2 separate regions of the Homo sapiens genome follow, and region 1 is linked to region 2. Evidence: promoter capture Hi-C in 16 types of primary human blood cells and fetal thymus (Javierre and others, 2016). All regions are on one chromosome and are shown on one strand. Each heading gives the region's core, a stretch centred on a gene start or on the middle of the fragment in contact. The rest is flanking DNA. Distances are from core to core; before and after follow the strand shown. Region 1 has its middle 29 kb from the start of BCORL1. Region 2 holds the start of ELF4 (E74 like ETS transcription factor 4).

What was found. Contacts are between HindIII fragments. The CHiCAGO score rates a contact against its expected background, and 5 or more counts as called.
Region 1: a fragment that was not itself captured here is called in contact with the fragment with the promoter of ELF4 in region 2 in 1 of 17 cell types (total CD8 T cells); the score reaches 5.2 in total CD8 T cells.

The regions. Positions count from the first base shown.
Region 1 is chrX:129,952,388-129,955,778 of GRCh38, forward strand. No RefSeq gene overlaps it. Among named protein-coding and RNA genes, the nearest start is that of BCORL1, 29 kb to the right of the region's middle. RefSeq lists an enhancer at 461-1,191. The HindIII fragment of the contact is 4,564 bases long and covers 1-3,391 here.
Region 2 is chrX:130,108,705-130,112,115 of GRCh38, forward strand. It overlaps ELF4 (E74 like ETS transcription factor 4), which reads right to left and starts at 1,793. Exons shown (of 9, transcript NM_001421.4): 1 at 1,621-1,793. It also overlaps a transcript of RAB33A not described here. RefSeq lists silencers at 1,675-1,744, 1,825-1,974, 2,225-2,274, 2,285-2,334, 2,405-2,524. The HindIII fragment of the contact is 7,600 bases long and covers 1-3,411 here.

The sequences.
Region 1 (3,391 bases), core at 841-3,340, 160 kb before region 2:
GAGGCCCTGGGGAAGCCCCCTGTGGATAACAGGGAATTGCTTGTATTTTGCAAGCTAAAAAGGGGTATTAACCAGGCCCAATTACAGCCCCACTGGTCGTTTCAGGAGTGGGGAAGCGTCAAAACTAGCTGCCTGGGCAGAGTGAGATAGCGAGAATAAAGGGCTCCTTCTGCCGGAGGACGGGCTCTCTGGCCCCCATTCGGTCACTGGGTCCCCCAAGTGTGAGGCCAGAGAGTTGAGACTGGGGAAAATAAGGAAAGGGAAGAGGAGAGCCGGGCCGCCCTCCCCTCCTCCCTCCCGCTCTCCTTTCTCTCGCGGTCCACGCTGGCCTCCCTCTTGGGCTCTTTGTCTGTCGGTCTGTCCGTCGGCTTTCTCTCGCGCTGCCTCTCTGCGCGCTCGCTCACTCGCTCGCTCTCTCTCTCTCTCTCTCTCTCTCTCTCTCTCTCTCTCTCTCTCTCTCTCTCTCTGCCTCTTCGGCTCACGTGACCGCTTGCTCTCAACGGCTCCGATCACCTCTTCCTGAGGCAGCACCTTTCGGTTGGTAACAGGAGACACTCGCTTGTTGGGGGCAGGATGGGTTTCCTTCCTCCGCTTTTTCCTCCTGGCCTTCTCGGGCAGTTCCAGCCGCTTCTCTCTGGCGCAGCCTCTGGCCCTCCACCCCTCCAGCCTCTCCCAGCCCCCATAGTGCTCGTTTACTCTCCCCTTCCCCTCCGCACCACCCCCCCACGCCCACCGGGGCCTCCCTCCTCCCCGGCAGCCAGCCCACTTTGGGGAGGGGGCTTCGGCGCAGGGGACAGACAAAAGGGCCTGGACGGACCCGGGGGCACCCCTCTGCAGCTCCCCACAACCACGTGGCCCCTCCCTCCTCGGGCAGCCGGCAGCTTCCCCCTCCCCTGCCCAGCCGGAGGTCTGGGGAGTTCGGGCCCCGAAGCATCCTTCCGGGCCTCGCTGGCGCCAATCGCTCCGCCGCGGGTGCTGAGCCTCCGGGTGCTTCGAATACCAAGGAATGCACCGGGCATGGGTGGGGGACATGCTCCGGGGGCGGAGGCAGCTTTTTCGGTTCCCAGGCTGGAGAACGGCCAGCCAAAGGGAGGAGACTCGGCCCCCGCCGTCGGAAGGTTCCCGGTACAGTGGGGTTGACAAGATCTCCAACCTCAGGGAGCTCCAGGTCTGATAGGAGAGACCCAGTCTCTCTCCCTTTAGCAGTTCAAACTCAACAGTAAGGATGAATCCAAAAGTGGGATGAAGGTGCCCTGCAAAAGCAGAGCTGGCCTATGTATTCGTGAACTTCTGGCTGAACCAGATTGTTTTTGGGCCATGTTGTCCAGCACTTAGCGAGCTGCCCTTCCCATCCTACCAACTCCTGCCACCAAAAGTTGGAATGGAAAGTGAGCTCCTTCCCATTCCATACCGTGGTAAAATTTAAACAAGGCCATTGAAGATGAAGGTTATCCAGTAAATCAGCCAAAACATTCACAAAACATTCTCAAAGCAGCCTCTGTAAATGCACTCTTAGCTAGGGTCTAGAGCCATGGCACTAGCCTGGCCCTAGATACCATGTGTATGCATTTTAGAGTCTTCGGAGGTACTGTTCCCCTGAGTCTCCCCCTCGCCACCCGCTGACCACTTAATACCATTTTAGTCAACAAGGCTAAGTCCCCTCAGGGGATATGCCTGTGGCCAGAGCCACACTTGGTGCACTTTAGGCATAGCCCTGGCCAATCCCAGAACAAAAGACCCAAATGCTGGGAGGGGAGGGGTGACAGAAAGAATTCCATCTCTCCAGTATCTTAGGGAGGGATTTGAGCCGAGAAGGGCCTCAGGCTTGACAGGGACCAGCAGAATAGCACTTGCCTGCAACCAAACCTAGTAAGAATGGCCACCACAACTACTATTTATTGAACCCTCACAAACTGCCAAGTACATAGCACACTAATCCCAATAACAGTCTTATATGGTAGGTACTATTATTATCCCCGTTCAACAGATAAGGCAACTATGGTTCAGAGAAGGTAACTTGAAGAGGTCACACAGCTGGTTAGTGGCAGAGCTGGGTTTGGAATCCAGGTCTGGCCAATGCCCAAGTCCAGCTCTCTAATCACTATACTACCCAACCTCTTTCCCACAAAGAGTGATTCTAAAACTCTCCCAGAAGCAACAGAGACAACTGGGTCAGGGCATGGTCTTGCTGGAAACTGGCTATTTGCCAAAATGTAGAGAGGTCAACAGGCGCCCAAAGTCACCCTGCTGGCTTTGTAAATGCCACAGAGACTCCCACATAAAAGTCCAGACTCCTAGATTCCTAACCTAGAATGCAAAGGAGACATCCTATCTGCCCATCCCCACAGACATCATCCCACTTCCGGTTTCTGTCTTCTGGGTAGCAGTGAGGTTTTCAGGATGCCAGGCTAAGGGTGAGCTTCTTGGAGGCAGTGTTGTGGGGATGGGCTTGATAATGGACCCCCGCTGCCCTACCCCCAGTCCTCCCTGGAGGGAGGACAAATAGGCCCATTGATTTGAAACTCTCCCAGAGGGCATTAGAGTAATGACTCTGGACTGTGTGATGCCTACACCCGCTTTGACCTGCTGACTGACCCCTGCCCTGGGAGGTTCCAAAGGCCACAAATCTCAGTTGCTTGTGGGCCATGTGGTTTGTGGCTGTTTGTAGTATTGGAGGGGAGGGGGAAATGAGGGGGGTAAGATACACTGCTTCTCACTGTGCTGGGCTTCCCAAGAGAACTAGCAAGGGGTGGACAGGGCCCCTTCTAAACACTGCCAAGACACACTGCAACTACTGATACGGGCTCCATCATTTATTTTTGAAAGCAGGAGGGCTCCTGGCTCATTTGCATAAATGTTTGCACTGCCTGCTATATTTTGATTTGGAAGAAGGGCACCAGGGCACAGAATATACATAACAGATTTGTAACTGGGCAGCTTGATCCTGTCCCTGGCCAGGCGAGCCAAAGATGGCCCCTCACCCTTTGTGTCTATTTTTGAAAGCCCCTCTTAAGTGCAAAGCCCAGCACCAAGGATGGGTGGCAATAGAAAGACCTCGCCCTGAATGGGGTGCTTCTAAGCCAGGTGTGTAGGTGGATGGGTAGATAAGGCAGCACTTGACTTGAAAAAGGGATGAACGGGCATGGTGGCTCACACCTGTAATCCCAGCACTTTGGGAGACCTGAGGCATGAGGATCACTTGAGCCTAGGAGCTTGAGACCAGCCTGGGCAACAGAGAGAACTTGTCTCTACAAAAAACATGTTTTTGAGAATTAGCTGGACATGGTGGCGCGCACCTATGGTCCCAGCTACTTATGAGGTTGAGGTGGAGGGATCGCTTGAGCCCAGGAGGTCAAGGCTGCAGTAAGCCATGATCGCTCCAATGCACTGT
Region 2 (3,411 bases), core at 543-3,042:
CAGTGCAGCACAGGGAGGAATGCCAGACATAGTTGCAAACAAGCCACTCCTTCGGCTCACAGCAAGAGGCTGGGTGAGGGTGGTAGCATGGAGCCTGCTTCATGGTCCCCCCCACCCCTGCCCCCAACAAGAGATCCCAGGCTCTGAATCCAGCCCCAAAAACAACCAGATGCAAGGTAGCCTCTTCCTCACACCAGCTGGCTGGGATAGGAAGTCCTCCCTGATAATCTTCACTGAACTCCAGAGAGCTCCCCCTACGCTGCTCCTGTACTGGATGCACTGAATCTGAATTAATGGTTGAGAAAGCACTTTATAACCAGGAAAACCCAGTGTAACTAACTGCAAGGAAGGACTGGCATTCTTGCTGGGCATATGTGTTCCCCGGGCATTTTCAGTGCCAAAGTCTCCCCAAAGGGAAGAGCTAGAACTGTTCCCTTCACCCACCTCCAACCTGGCACTCGGGCCAGGGGTCAGCTGGCAGGGGGTGAGTCCCCAATGGGCGTGCCCACCAGCTGTTGGGGCTGAGCAGTGGTGGTTCAGGCCCTGGGGTGGTGACCTCACTTCCGCTCCTACCTCCCCACCTCCCCAGCACTCCTCCCATTTGAGGCCCCACCAGGCCAAAATCGAGAAGTCCAAGGTTAACTGTTCTTTCCCACTTTAAGAGCTAATTAAAATAATTAGCCACAATGAACTGTCAAACATTAACCAGAAGAGGCTGCAGGACCAGACAGGCCTCTATCACAGGCCGAGGGATGAGGGGCAGGAATCAAATGGCCATCAAATCCCTCAGCTGGGGTATGGTGCGGGGCGGGGGCGGCCCAGGAGGACCTCGCTGAGCCGAGGTGCCAAGGGGTCAGGAGGTGACTCTGGTCAGGAAGGTGATGTGCAGGCATACGGTGGTGAGAAAAGGGAGTCAGGGTTAGGGTGCGGTGGAGGAGCCAGGAATTCATAAAGCGGTCACCGCCTCAGCAGTCCCTCAAGCCTCCAAAGCAAGGCGCTGGCGTGAGGGGACCCCGCACGGTGCGGCTGCTGAATCCCCTAGGCGGCGGCCCAGGAGGGAACCCGGAGGCGGGAGAGTCGGGGAGAGCGGGAACGCGGGAGCGGGAAGGCTGGCGGCTGGCTCACACGGAAACTCCGGCCCCTGCCAAGAGGTCTCTATTTTGGCGATCCAGTTCTCCACATCATAGGTCTGCGTGCGCGTGTGTGCGTGTGACCCTAAAGCCCTGGCCCCAGAAGCCCCGGGGGCAGTCGGATCCATCTAGCAGCTCCGCCGCGGTCCGCCCCACCTCCTCTGCCCTCGGGCGCCCAGCTTCTGGGGGCCCGCTGTCATGATCGGCCCCGTCACGGAACCCAGGCTGCCGGGGGCGAGGGAAAACAGGGGCCCCTACCCCGACTCCCCGACTCGGGGAATCCATTCCACTTCCATCCCGGGATCGGGAGCCCGGGTTCTCCATCACACGCGCGGCGGGGCGACTCCAGGGCGGCTCGCGACACTCCGCGACTCTCCCGCCCTTCCCTGGGCCCCCAGCCCCACGCCGGGGCCCCGGCGCTCTCGATTCCGCCCTCAAGCAAACTTTTCCACGTCCCCCAAGGCTCGAAGAACCGGCGCCATCGACGTACCTGAGGCCGAGTGGCTCACGGGCCCAGCTCGGTCGCCGGGCCGGGGTCTGTCTCCGTGGTCCCCGCTCCGGGGGCCGAGACGCGGGTCCCCAGCCCCGCCAGCCCGTCCTCTCCCCTCGGAAGCCGGGCCGGGCGAGCGGCGCCAGGAACTCGGCGCCGGCGAAAGGAGAAGTGGAAGTTGAGCGCGGCGCCCGGTCGGTCCCCGCGGCCGCCGGGGCCGCCGTCCCCCGCCCTCCTCCCCGCCCGCCCTTCTTCCCCGCCCGCCTGCCCCCGCCACCCCGCGCCCGTGACTCACCTCGGCGCCGGGGCAGGCTGGTCCGGGCGGGCGAGGCGCAGGGCTCTCCCACACTTCGCGCCGCCAATGGCAAGTTGGAGGGAGAGATGCAAATACCAGGTGAGACGGCGGCGCCCCTGATAAAACGGGGCGGGGGGCGGGGTGGAGCGCGCGGGGAGCGGGGCGGACGCCGGGGAGGGCCGGGCCAAGACACGGGGCGGCAGGGGCGCCCGGGGAGGGGGCGCGAACCGGCGCAGACATGCACCGAAACGAGCGAGCGAAAGGGGAAATGCAGTAGAGACACACACGTCCCCGCAGGCGGCGGATGGGGCGGGCGCGAAGGAGGCAGGGCGGGAGGGAGGGAAGAGCCGGAGGGAGGGACCGACGGGAGGGACTGCGGGCGGGCGGGGTGGGGGAGGGAACGAGGGAGGGACGAGGCATCTCGGTGGAAACAGCGCCCGTCCGCCCCGGCCCGCCCGCCGCGGTCGCCAGCACGGCATGGGGAGCCGTGCCAGGGGCCCGCGCGGCCTCTCATTCCCCTCGCGGCTCGCTCGCGCCCGGGGGACCACGAGGCAGGGCGCCCGCAGAGCCCGCGTCGTGCGCCGCGGCCCGGGCGGGCGCTCCCCACTCTGCTTCTAGCCAGCGAGACTCCGAGCTCTCTGCTCGTTCCGCGCCCTTCCCGGTGCGAAGCCCCCATACAACGCCCCGCAGAGAAATCCCTTCCCCGCGGACTCGGGAAGGTTTCGTCCAGCCCCCTCGGCCCGTGCAAGTGGAGACTTGCTTGACGCCTTTGGGCCAAGCCCTGCGCTCCACATTATTGAGCTCCTGGGGTGTGCAGGCCCCAGCGGGAGGGCGGGCCGTGCGGCGGGTGAGGCCGCGAGATGCCCAGAGGATACAATTTTGGAACCATATGCCCGACTCCGCAGAATCCTGGGCGTAACACCTGGGGTGACTGGAGAGTTTCGGCGACTTCTTAGGGAAGTCGAGTCTAGGACTCCTGCGGGAAGTTGGGGTGGGGGACGCTGGCAAGATATGAGTCAGGGGAAGGGCTAGGGGGAGAGGGGCTGGCCCAGCAAGTGCAAAGAGAGCCAGAGTTCGGGTGCTGGAAGAAAGCCCATGCCTACCTTTCTTCCCCTGTCCAAAGCCAGGCTGCTCTGCTCCACGCGCCCACTTGAAAGCCACTCAGGCACGCTCCCCTTCTATCTCCCCTTTGCCCTCTCTGACCTGCCTCAACATCAATACCGCCGCCTACGTGGGTCTGCTGATAGGAGGCTCTGGAGAGAGTGCGCTGGGAATTGTTACTCTGTATAGTTCCACGTGGCCTTTTTGGGGGTGGGGGCAGCAAGGCCTAAGCCTTGGCAGAAAGCATCAAGACTGAAGGAGCCCCAGGGGATGGGGCCTTCTAAAGGGCTTGAGGTTGAAGGACCTACTCAGCCTCCAGCATCGGCCTGCTTCTCCTGCCTTGGGAAAGGATCATCTCAGGCGCAGGACTGGGGGACAGGAGTGGTGGTGGATGA